Linked DNA regions of Homo sapiens: regions 1 and 2 are each linked to region 3. The links are contacts of gene promoters, found by promoter capture Hi-C in human tissues and cell types (Jung and others, 2019). All regions are on one chromosome and are shown on one strand. The core of a region is centred on a gene start or on the middle of the fragment in contact, and the rest is flanking DNA. Distances in the headings are between cores, read along the strand shown. Region 1 has its middle 17 kb from the start of MAN1C1. Region 2 holds the start of CD52 (CD52 molecule). Region 3 holds the start of STMN1 (stathmin 1).

Region 1 (3,857 bases), core at 1,255-3,754, 310 kb after region 3:
GCACAGAGTCCCCCGTGTGGGGCCTTCCCACTCCCGCACGAGACCATTCCTGCCCTCTGTTAGCACCATAACCCCTTCTAGGAAATCAACCCTGAATCCTGCTCTCAGAAACTCCTGCTCCCCATTGGTTGTCACATCAAGTGCTCGCTAACTTGCCTTTAACCCTCCCGAGGCACATGTGCTCTCCTAACCATCTGAAAAGAAACAAGCCTCCAGCAGGACACAGTGGGTCACGCCTGTAATCCCAAAACTTCGGGAGGCTGAGGCAGGCAAATCACTTGAGTTCAGGACTTTGAGACCAGCCTGGCCAATATCATGAAACCCCATCTCTACTAATAATACAAAAATTAGCCGGGCATAGTGGCAGGTGCCTGTAATCCCAGCTACTCAGGAGGCTGAGGCGGGAGAATTGCTTGAACCCGGGAGGTGGAGGTTGCAGTGAGCCAAAATTGTGCCACTGCACTCCAGCCTGGGTGACAGAGCAAGACTCTGAGAAAGAAAACGAAAGAAAGAAAGAAAGAAGGAAGGAAGGAAAGAAAGAGAGAGAGAAAGAAAGAAAGAAAAGAAAAGAAAGAAAAAGAAAGAAAGAAGGAAGGAAGGGAGGGAAAGAGAGAGAGAAAGAGAAAGAGAGAAAGAGAGAGAGAGAAAGAGAGAGAAAAAGAAAGAAAGAGAGAGGGAGGGAGGGAGGGAAGGACGGAAGGAAGGAAGGAAGGAAGGAAGGAAGGAAGGAAGCCTCCAAAGGTCAAAGGGTTGTAGTTATAATGGTGGATACCTAGGCAATGGGACCAGTCATTTAGACAAAGGAGTGCTGCTCCAATCTCACTGGCAGGCAGCCAGCCTTCTCCCATGGAGGTAATGCCCACTATACTAAGGGAAAGTAGGGGGAAGGTATTCCAGCTCCTGTTTACCCACATGGAGTCAAGCGCCTTTAGCCAAGGCAAACACTCCCACAGGACAAGGGCCAAGTCATTTCAGGGCCATGTCCTCTGCCCCTGGGGTTGCTAGATTTAGCAAATAAAAATACTGGGCAGGGCTGGGGTGGTGGTTCACGCCTGTAATCCCAGCACTTTGGGAGGCCAAGGCAGGTGGATCACTTGAGGTCAGAAGTCCAAGACCAGCCTTGCCAACATGCGGAAACCCTGTCTCTACTTAAAACAAACAAACGAATGAACAAAAAAATGAAAATTAGCCGAGCGTGGTGGTATACGCCTGTAATCCCAACTACTTGGGAGGCTGAGTCAGGAGAAGTGCTTGAACCTGGGAGGCAGAGGTTGTAGTGAGCCGAGATTGTGCCACTGTACTCCAGCCTGGGTGACAGAGTGAGACTCTGTCTCACAAAAAAAAAAAAAAAAAAATACTGGCCAGGAAATCCAGTTAAATTTGAATTTCAGATAAGCTACAAATAATTTTTACTAAGTACGCTCCATGCATTATTTGGGGACATACATATACCAAAAGGACACTGATTATTTATCTGAAATTCAAATTTAACAGGCTTTCCTGTATTTTTCCTGATGATTCAAGCCCTTAGCTGACTATACCACACACAGGGGCTGGCACACAGTAGGTACTGATTGAAGGAGGGATTTGTTTCACCTTCTAACTGGAGGCGAAATCAAAATTTTACATTTCACTGGGTCAGAGTGGACTTTCTAGTTACTGCCGTGAGTTTTAATTATCAAAATGAAACTGTTTACTTTGACCAAAAGGGAACAGAAAGCCATAGAACTGCCTGAATTATCAGCAGGAGTCAAGAAGGGAAATCGGTTCTTTATAGAGCAAGTTTGCAGGTAAAGGAGACCATTTCCTCCTTGTCCCCCCTCAATTCCAGCCTATTCAATTCATTTATTCAACAAATATTTATTGAGTGCCTACCGTGTGCCAGGCACTGCTCAACAAATCAATGAAATTATTATTATCATCCTTCTTATGGTCCCATTTGATTGAAGAGGAAAACTGAAGTCCAGAGAAGTTAGGTGACTTGCCCGAGGTAACACAGCAGGTGGGTGTTGGATATAAGATTAACACCCAATATATCCGATACCTGAGCCCTTGCTCTTTCCATTGTGTGACTCTGTAGAGGTACGAGGCCCTTAGAAGGAACTAGGCAGGTAGAACTCACACAGAGAGCCTGCAGCCCCTCAGCCAACACCCAGTATTATCCTTTTATCTCTGATGCATCTACCTGGCTCCCCTTCAACCACTACCCCCTGTCCCAAGCCACACTCAGCTCTTGCCTCAACAACAGCAATAATTTCCAGGCTGGTCCACCTCTCTGGCTCCCTGCAATCTGTTCTCCATACAGCAGGCAGAATGGCCCATATGAAAGGTAGATGCAACCATGTCACCTTTCCACTATGTCATTTTCCCACCTTTCTTTCTTTTCCTTTCTTTCTTTCTTTCTTTCCCCTTCCTTCCTTCCTTTTTCTATCTTTCTTTTTTTCTATCTTTCTTTTTCTTCTTCTTTTCTTTCTTTCTTATTTCTTCCTTTCTTTTCAGAGTTTTGCTCCTGTTGACCAGGCTGGAGTGCAGTGGCACAATCTCGGCTCACTGCAACCTCCAACTTCTGAGTTCAAGCAATTCTCCTGCCTCAGCCTCCCGAGTAGCTGGGATTCCAGGTGCTCACCACCACATCCAGCTAATTTTATATTTTTAGTAGAGACAGGTTTTTGCCATGTTGGTCAGGCTGGTCTCGAACTCCTGACCTCAGGTAATCTGCCCACCTCAGCCTCCCAAAGCCCTGGGATTACAGACATGAGCCACCATGCCTGGCCACCTTTCCACCTTTCTACCTTTCTATCTCCTCGGATATCCATAAAGCTGCTAACCATGGCCCGGCTAATAATCCACCTTTGCTGACTCCTCCAGCTGCCTCTTGCTTCCCTGGCCTGTAGCAGTCAGTGTTTTGTTATCTTTTACTGCATATCATCCCAACATTTAGTGCCCTAAAACAACTGTTTATATCTCTTGTGATTCTCTGGGTTGACTGGGCTCAGCTGTATGGTTCTTCTGGGGCTGTAGTCATCTGGAGGCTTGACTCGGCTGGCTTTCCAAAGTGGCTTACTCACATGTCTGATGGTTGATGATGGCTGTTGCCTGGGAGTTCAACTGGGGCTGTTGCCTGGAGTGCCAACATGCAGCCCTCCATGTGGCTGGGGCTTCTCACAGCATGCCAGCTGGGTTCTGAGACAGAGTGTCTCAAGAGTGAGCATTCCAGTAGCTCTTAATTTCCAGGCTAGGCCTAGAATTGACGAGCATCAGTTCCACCACTTTCTTTTTGGTTAAGCAGTCACAGGGCTGGTGCCAATTGAAGGGAGGCAAAATAAGCTTCATTTCTCAATGGGAAAACTTTATGTTTCGCTTTAATACACCACAGTCAGTCTCCGTTTCAGATCACAGGAACTGCAGCAGCTTGTTTAGGAAGAAAGGAATTTAATACAAGGGAAAGGTACTTACACCAGTGTTGGGAGGGTTGGAGAGGCTGACTCTAGGCTGAGCTTCCAGAAATGATCCCCAGAAGAACACTGCAGAACTGGCCTGCCAGGGGAGCTGCAGCCACCACCATAATCAAGAAGCTGGGAAATCAGGTGGCCACCACCCCTGCCGGCTCCAGGAAGGACAGTACTCTACCCTGACCCATGCCGCAGAATGGGTGACCCAAGCTCTTCCCCTACAATCACAACACATGGATCTAGACGCTGAGCCCTCTGCAACAGCTGCTGTGGAAAAACAAATACCTCCTTGACTCTGCTTGTCCAAAGACCAGAGAAACATGGCCCCTGACTTAGAACATTAACATCCATGGTACATCTGATTGGTAGAGCCTAAGTCGCATCTGACCTGCACCCTTGGCTTCA
Region 2 (3,963 bases), core at 996-3,495, 410 kb before region 3:
GTGTCGTTTTGTCCTGAGAGTCCAGTTTGTATCTGTAGGAGGAGAAGTGGGATAAGATCAGGGGACTTTTTTTTTTTTTTTTAGAGGTGGAGTCTCACTCTGTCACCCAGGCTGGACTGCAGTGATGCGATCTCGGCTCACTGCATCCTCCACCTCCCGGGTTCAAGTGATTCTCCTGCCTCAGCCTCCTGAGTAGCTGGGACTATAGGCACGTGCCACCACGCCCGGCTAATTTTTCTATTTTTAGTAGAGACGGGGTTTCACCATGTTGGTCAGGCTGGTCTCGAACTCCTGACCTGGTGATCCACCCGCCTCGGCCTCCCAAAGTACTGGGATTACAGGTGTGAGCCATCGTACCCAGCCCTCAGGGGACTTTTGAATAGCGTGTTTGTTATTTAAAGATGCAGTCCCCTTTCTACCCTCCCCGCCCTCCATCCGCCCACCTCCATAAAACAGTCCTCAGTTCTGCCCCATGTGACCACTACTTCTTCCACAAGGTCCTGTCAGGATGTTTGACTGCTTCCTGCTTTGACACAGGCAGGGACAGAGGTGATCACTGCCCCTGTCCACCCCCTTTCACAGAAACTTTCTGTTTTTTTGAGATAGAGTTTCGCTCTTTTGCCCAGGCTGGAGTGAAGTGGCATGATCTCGGGTCACTGCAACCTCCACCCCTCAACCTCCCGAGTAGCTGGGATTATAGGCAGCCGCTATCACGCCCAGCTAATTTTTTTTTTTTTTCCGAGACAGAGTCTTGCTCTGTCGCCCGCCCAGGCTGGAGTGCAGTGGCGTGATCTCGGCTCACTGCAAGCTTCACCCCCAGGTTCACGCCATTCTCCTGCCTCAGCCTCCCGAGTAGCTGGGACTACAGGCGCCCGCCACCACGCCACGCCCGGCTAATTTCTTTTTGTATTTATGGTAGAGACGAGGTTTCAATGTGTTAGCCAGGATGGTCTCGATCTCCTGACCTCATGATCCACCCGCCTCAGCCTCCCAAAGTGCTGGGATTACAGACGCGAGCCAGCGCGCCCGGCTCGCCCAGCTAATTTTTGTATTTTTAGTAGAGACGGGATTTTGTCATGTTGGCCAGGCTGGTCTTGAACTCCTGACCTCAGGTGATCCGCCTGCCTCGGCCTCCCAAAGTGCTGGGATTATAGGCGTGAGCCACCGTGCCCGGTCACAGAACCTTTCTTTTCACCTTTCCCCAGCGACCAGCCCTTCTGGCATAGAGGGAGACAGGGGAGCCCTGGCCCTTGACCTTCCTAGCCTGGCAAAGGGCTTAGCTTCCCTGAGCCTCAGTTTCATCTTCTGAGTGGGGAGAAGTTCATCACAGTTGTGAAGGTCACATGAGCCAGGGCTGAGTGAGAAAGCACTTGGCAAAGCGTGGGTGGCTGGATGTGGGGTGGGGAAGTGGCCAGATGGTGATCGAGCTGTCCTTAATGCTTGATGGAGCTGCAACTAGAACTGTTCTTGATGGAGATTAAGCTGGTTTTGATGGTGATCAAGCTGTTCTTGATCAAGAACTTGATGGCTCCGGTCTGCTGTACTGACTCCCCTCTGGGCACCTGGGATGCTACCAAAGCTGCCTCCTGGAATAGCAGTCGCTTTTGAGACTCCAGTTGTTTCTGAAATGGGAGAGTCCTGTCTTCTTTGCATTCCTGAACATCCAGGCTTCTCTCTGGCAGGGGAGTGGGGGTTAGAGTGTCCCCTGTCACCTCCATAACCACAGCAGGCTCCACTTGGACATCTCCTGGCCTCTCCCCAAAGGACCATCTCCCCAGACTCCCTGTGGGCCGATGCCTTCCTCACTCAGGGTTGTCTTCCCAAGTCTCTTAGTTCTCTATTATTCCACAACACCCCTTGGGTGCCCCAACGCGCCTAGCACCCTGTAAGTGCTCCCCAGCTGTGGATACAGGTTTCTCTCAGGGCAGCCCGCAAGCAGTGCAGCCCCAGCCAGAAGAGCTGGAAGGCTGGGCGGCCAGGCCCGCTGTGTCCCCAGTTTTCCTGTTGGAGTCCATCTGCTGTGCTCTCAGGAGAGAAGGCTGGGTCTCTGGGAGCTCACATCCTGTATGCCCTCCCTCCATGCCAAGCAACTTTGGGGAGTCCTGGCAGTGGTGCCAGGCGTTGCTCTTACCTGTACCATAACCAGGAGGCTGATGGTGAGTAGGAGGAAGAGGAAGCGCTTCATTTTGGTAGGATCTTCGTGGCTGTCTTGGTAGCAGCTTTTTAGGTGATCTCAGGGCTGTCTGGAGGCTTCTTTTGGTTTAGCTGCTTTTGAACCAGGAGGCAGAGGAGGCGGGGTGAGGTAGGGAGAGGAAGGAGGGCTTACAAGGTGGAGGAGGGGTGTGGCTTCCTTTCTGCAGATCTGGGGGTGGATAATACCAGGCTCTAGGTTCTAAGGCCCTGGCTGGGGGAGCAGGCTAGATCGTACAAGATAGGAGAGAGGTCAATCCAGAGGCAACGGTGGGAGTAAGTAGGGCCCAAGGCCTGGAATCATGCATCCTGCAGGCTGAATCCTGGTTTAATCACTGACCAGCTCTGAGACCCTGGGCCAGAAACTCTACCTCTCTGACCCTTTAACAAAAGAACTGCCGGATTACATGTAATAATAACCAATTTAAAAAGAGCCAGAACATAGCAGATATTCCGTAAATGAGTTTGTTGTTTAAAGAAGATTGGGGCAGGGTATAGGAGCTGAAGGAGAAGGGCTGGGATAGATTTATGTTTCAAGGGAAGGTTGTAGATGGGCTGCAGGTTCTGAATGAAAGCTTGGGAAATGTTTAGATTGTGGAAGGGTTGGTGGATTTCTGTGAAGGTGCTGGAGGTGAGGAATCGGGAAGCCTGGTTTCAGTTGGGCTTTCCCTCTCTAGGCCTCAGTTCCTCATTTCAAGGAACTGGGAAGACTGAAATAGATTATTTCTGAAGTTTGTTAAAACCTAGTGTTTTGTTTTGTTGTTGTTGGTTTTTTTGTTTTTTTTTTTAAACAGAGTTTTGCTCTGTGCACTGGCATGATCTCGGCTTACTGCAACCTCCACCTCCTGGGTTCAAGCAATTATCCTGCCTTGGCCTCCCGCATAGCTGGGACTACAGGTGTGTGCCACCATGCCTGGCTAATTTTTTGTATTTTTTTTTTTTTTTTAGCGGAGACTGGGTTTCACCATGTTGGCTAGGCTAGTCTCGAATGCCTGATCTCAAGTGATCCGCCTGCCTCGGCCTCCCAAAGTGCTGGGATTACAGGCATGAGCCACCGCGCCCAGCCAAGACCTAGAATTTTGTGATTTTGGTAGAGAAAGTAGCAAGCAGATGGGTTGTTTGTATTAGCTGAGGATGAATGGGAGGGGAGCGAGGGAAGGGACAAGTGGGTGACTAAGCTACAGTGGAAGGGGACTGGGGTGAGAGAGTGGCTGTGAGGGCCCAGGGAGGGGTGGGGGGATGAGAGGAATCCCACAGCTGCCTGGATAGTGCTCCATGCTTTATGCATTCCCTCACTTGATACCCTCTGTGGTGCCCTGCAGCAGGTGTTATGTTTATCCCCATTTGACTGGTGAAAAAACTGAGGCTTAGATGTTAAGTGACTTGCTAAGGTCGTAAATGGTGGAGCCAGTCTCATTTGACCTTGAATCCAGGTCTGTCTGAAGCCACAGCCATGTATGTAACCTCTGGGGCTGCCCTAGAATTCATCCATTAAGTCTTGATTCCCTGCCACTCCCTCCCCCTCCCCTACACAAACTCCCCCCAGGCCCCAGGAGTTGGTCACCACAACCCCAGCTCTGGCCCACTCTCCCTTCACACTCTCCCTTCCTTAGTCTACTTTAGGCCTCATTTACATGCTAGGTAGTAAAGGGAAAACTCCCCTCACTTCTCTTCTATTGTTTTGGGCCTTGTGTTGCAAGCCCAGGGGAGATCTGGCTGAGGCTGAGTCCAAAGAAAAAAACAGAGGCTGGGCATAGGGGCTACGCCTGTAAT
Region 3 (3,740 bases), core at 398-2,897:
TTTCCTGAGGGGTCTCATGCCCATCCTTCTCCAACTTTTCTAATGATGTCTGAGATTCTGTTCAGAAAAATGACAGACGGAAGCACCTAGCCATTTTGAAGCTAAGTTTGGTCTGAGAAGAAGCCTTTCAAGGCTCAGTATCTGAATTATTCCTGGTCCTGCTCACAGGCTAAGTGAAAACCACTTCGATTGGCTTGGGGGGGAGGCCGACCCCACACAAGGGCGATTGTTGGAAAAAATGCCGCAACAAGCATATTTCAGGCAACAGCGCATTGCTAATTGTTTGCTTTGTGTAGTGTGCTGCTGCTTGTATGATCCAGTTTTTATTGTCTTGGGCACCCCTTAGTTGTATTTTATCTCTGGCACATCCCTGGTGACTAACTAGGCATGAGAGTCTTTCTAAATTAGGACTGTTGTTTCAGGAAGGTTGGTCACATTTGTTTCTTGATTTGGGGAGATGCAGCTCATTAATAAAATAAAGATATCTCTTCTGCTTAGTCAAGATCTCAAAGCAGGTGTCTTGGTGTATTGACCACCAACCGAGGACACGGTCTTGGTCAGAGAATGGGAGGAGGCGGGGACCATGTTCATTTCATTTATTTTTTTCCCCTTTTTGTGAGAGAAAGGGCCAGTTATTCTAAGGCACGGTCAGACCAATTTCCTTTGTGCCTTTGCTGAGGTTCTGAGCTATCCAGGTCAGGGAGAACAGTGACCTTGTGGCTCCTTTTTCGATTTTTAAAAAGAACCCAGTGCTGCTCTGGGGAGCACGTGCTCTGAGAACAAAAGCAACACTTAACTGCAATCTGTGTAGTCTAGAACGGCTATTGCTCTTCCTCCCCTATCATCCGCAGAAGGCTTGGAAGAACAGATGGAGTCTGCATTTAAGCTGAGTGGCTTTGTTAGACCAAAGGCGATCAAATTCCAGAGCCCCACGCTTTCCCGCACAGGTCCCTGGTCACCGGCTCGGGAACCTGAGGATGCTGGCAAGAACGCACACAGTGAGGGAAGGGCCACGCCCGCGACCTGTGGGCTGAGTGGATTAGAAATTACGATGATGTCACAATATGGGTGACACGCCGGTGTCGGTGTAGGGTGCCGGGGGCAGGGGGCCCTGCAGGGGCGTGGAGTGGCATTGTGCTGTCACAGGGGCTCGGGCGTCTTAGGCACCCATGTGGGTGGCGCACTAGAAGGGGCACTGCTCTGTCCGAGTGCTGCCCTTGGGGCGAGGCGGGCATGTGGCTCTACAAGGTGGAGTCCAGGCGGCCAAAGTTTGGAAAGGTAGGGAAGGACCCCCCCGCCCTCCGCCTGCTCCGCCCTGCCCTTGTTCTCGAGAATGGGGAGCTGGTTCGGACCTAGTCCGGGGTCCACTGCCACGCCCTCTTCCACGGCGAGACCACCCCCCTAGTCCCAGGCCCACACCTGGGGATGCTCCCCAGGCGCCCTGCAACCCCCGGCATTGTCCTCCTGCCCTCCGGGACAGGACTACACTTCCCGAGGTGCTTCGGGGTCCCGGGGGGCGGCGCTCCACGCGGGTTGTGGGGGGCGGGGGCGGCACGTGCCGCCGCTCTCGGCCAATGCGGAGCCCCGCGCGGAGGTCACGTGCCTCTGTTTGGCGCTTTTGTGCGCGCCCGGGTCTGTTGGTGCTCAGAGTGTGGTCAGGCGGCTCGGACTGAGCAGGTGGGTGCGGGGCTCGGAGGAGGCGGCGGCTGGCTGAGGCCAGCAAGAGGGACGCGGTCGGCGGGAGGGGCTGGGCCGTGGCAGCGACCCCCTGCTGCAGGGCGGCGGGCGGGGCTGCGGGCCTCGGAGGGGTTGGTGGGCGGGGGTCGCTCCGCTTTGTGTGTGGCTCGGGCGGAGCCTCGCCTTTGTCCCCGCTCTCCGGGGGCGCGGCTGTTCGTGGGCAGGGGGCTGGGCGATCACCGGGCGTCCGCTCCGGGGTGCCGTCGAGGAGACAATAGGGGGCGTGGGCCCTCGTTTACCTCCCTCCCTCCCTCCCTTCCCTGCGGGCCCCGCCGGGTTCCCCATTGTCTGAAGGGACGGGGCGGTGCCCCAGGGACCAGCGGCTTTAGGACCAAACTGCGGGCAGCCAGGGCCGCGACCCTCCCTGCGACCGTCCCCTGGCGACCGCAGCTGGTGATTGAGGGGCGGCGCTCCCGGGCCCCACGAGGGTTCTTCTGTCTTCGCGGCCGGACGCGCGGACAGCGTGGGTGGCGGCAGGTTGGGCATGGGGACGGCGGGAGGCGGTGGCGAGCTCACCGCGGGACCACCCGGGGGCCTGTTCCCGGGGCCTGCCCCACCCGCTGAACTGTGAAGGGGGTGGTGGCGGCGGCCTGGAGGTGTTTTTGGCGGGAGTTGGGGGGGGCGTCCGCGCAGGGGGAGTCAGGCAGGGGCGGAGTTACCCGGATTGGACCGTTAGCCCCGCCCACCCCTCCCCTTCCCACGCGCGCGGGCTCCGGGGTGTTGAGTTCGGGGAGATTCGAAAAGGCGCGGGGAGGAAGGGGGCGGGGCCAGGGGCCGGAGCGCAAGGCGTGCTCTGATTGGCCGGGGGCGACCGGTCCTCTTTTCCTCGCCCGGACCAGGGCCACGCCCATCCTGGGTCCGGTGCTGCGTCTAATTCTCTGCTTTTCTTAAATCTTGTCGCTGCCTCTGATTTTAATTCCTAGCTTTTGGGAACCTGTCATCCTACGTTTTTGGTACTAGCTGGCGTCTACAAAAGTCATAATGTTAAAAAGATCAACAAGAGATACAGCATTTTTCATGACATAACGGCAGCAAATATAAGTCAAAATCTAGAGGTTCATAAACATTTTGCTTGCTGTTGGGCAAGGAAGCTTAAACCTGAGGGACAATAGGAGTTCAACATTATTGGTTACTATTAGCTTGGGCGTTTTCTTATCCACCACGTCAGACACAGACAAAGCAGGGGTGGGTATTTCATTTGCACAATGAGTTGTAGGCAGTATTAAGATGGCTCCGGGGGCACTGTTGAGTTGAATCTGGAATATCTTCTTACAGTTTCGGTGAAATGTTAAAGAGTTTATGGGGGAAAAATTCTTCACCCTTGTGACTTTGTCTGATTTTAAAAATCCAAGAGTTTTATGACCGAGAAAGCTCAGTTAACTTGATTTTCTGGAACCAATATCATATTCAGGTCATATTTCCCAATGTTTATTTAGTAGATTTTGATAATTTTTTTCGTGGTTAATTTAGACGTCTTTATTCCACGTATTTTTCTGACGATGTATGTAGATGTGATGTGAGATTTTTTTGGGTTGATGACATATAGAAAGGCAAAGAAAGTGATTGCATGTTTTTGAAAATCATTTTCAGGACTTTCCTTATCCCAGTTGATTGTGCAGAATACACTGCCTGTCGCTTGTCTTCTATTCACCATGGCTTCTTCTGGTAGGTAATCTATTTGGAAAATCTGAAATTGTAATGGGCTTATGATTTTAGATTGAGATGGCTCAGGTCTTCGCCTTTGATTTGGCACTTATGTTTTGGTCTTACCAAAACCTATTTTATGAATAGGAGAAGAATTTAAAAATGATTATCACTTGAATGTGCCGAGAGCTCGTAATTGTTTATTGGACAGTTTGGCTTAGTCTGAAGCAAAATTGTGGAGTTTGCACAAGTCTTTTGTTTATGAAAGCGATTGTCAGATACTGATGTCTCAAAACAGTATTTATTAATCCAAAAATGTTGAGCTTTGTTTTTCTGGGAGATGGTTTTTATTTTTTTTG

Evidence for each region. Contacts are between HindIII fragments. The study calls those that stand out against the background at their distance.
Region 1: a fragment that was not itself captured here is called in contact with the fragment with the promoter of STMN1 in region 3 in 1 of the 25 tissues and cell types used here (adrenal gland).
Region 2: the fragment with the promoter of CD52 here is called in contact with the fragment with the promoter of STMN1 in region 3 in 1 of the 25 tissues and cell types used here (IMR-90 fibroblasts).

What each region holds. Positions count from the first base shown.
Region 1 is chr1:25,598,268-25,602,124 of GRCh38, reverse strand. No RefSeq gene overlaps it. Among named protein-coding and RNA genes, the nearest start is that of MAN1C1, 17 kb to the left of the region's middle. RefSeq lists a silencer at 713-1,007. The HindIII fragment of the contact is 8,864 bases long and covers 1-3,857 here.
Region 2 is chr1:26,316,240-26,320,202 of GRCh38, reverse strand. CD52 (CD52 molecule) reads right to left here and starts at 2,245. Exons shown (of 2, transcript NM_001803.3): 1 at 2,132-2,245; 2 at 1-32. The coding sequence starts at 2,185. It also overlaps a transcript of UBXN11 not described here. RefSeq lists enhancers at 1,239-1,338, 480-1,465, 1,839-1,988, 2,119-2,188 and a silencer at 2,263-2,455. The HindIII fragment of the contact is 5,127 bases long and covers 1-3,885 here.
Region 3 is chr1:25,904,326-25,908,065 of GRCh38, reverse strand. STMN1 (stathmin 1) reads left to right here and starts at 1,647. Exons shown (of 5, transcript NM_005563.4): 1 at 1,647-1,677; 2 at 3,328-3,402. The coding sequence starts at 3,390. It overlaps MIR3917 (microRNA 3917), which reads left to right and starts at 1,612; the gene lies at 1,612-1,704. It overlaps LOC105376885 (a long non-coding RNA gene), which reads right to left and starts at 1,516. Exons shown (of 2, transcript XR_947102.1): 1 at 1,420-1,516; 2 at 1-1,030. RefSeq lists silencers at 1,405-1,714, 1,735-1,824, 2,215-2,634, 2,414-2,708. The HindIII fragment of the contact is 6,882 bases long and covers 1-3,740 here.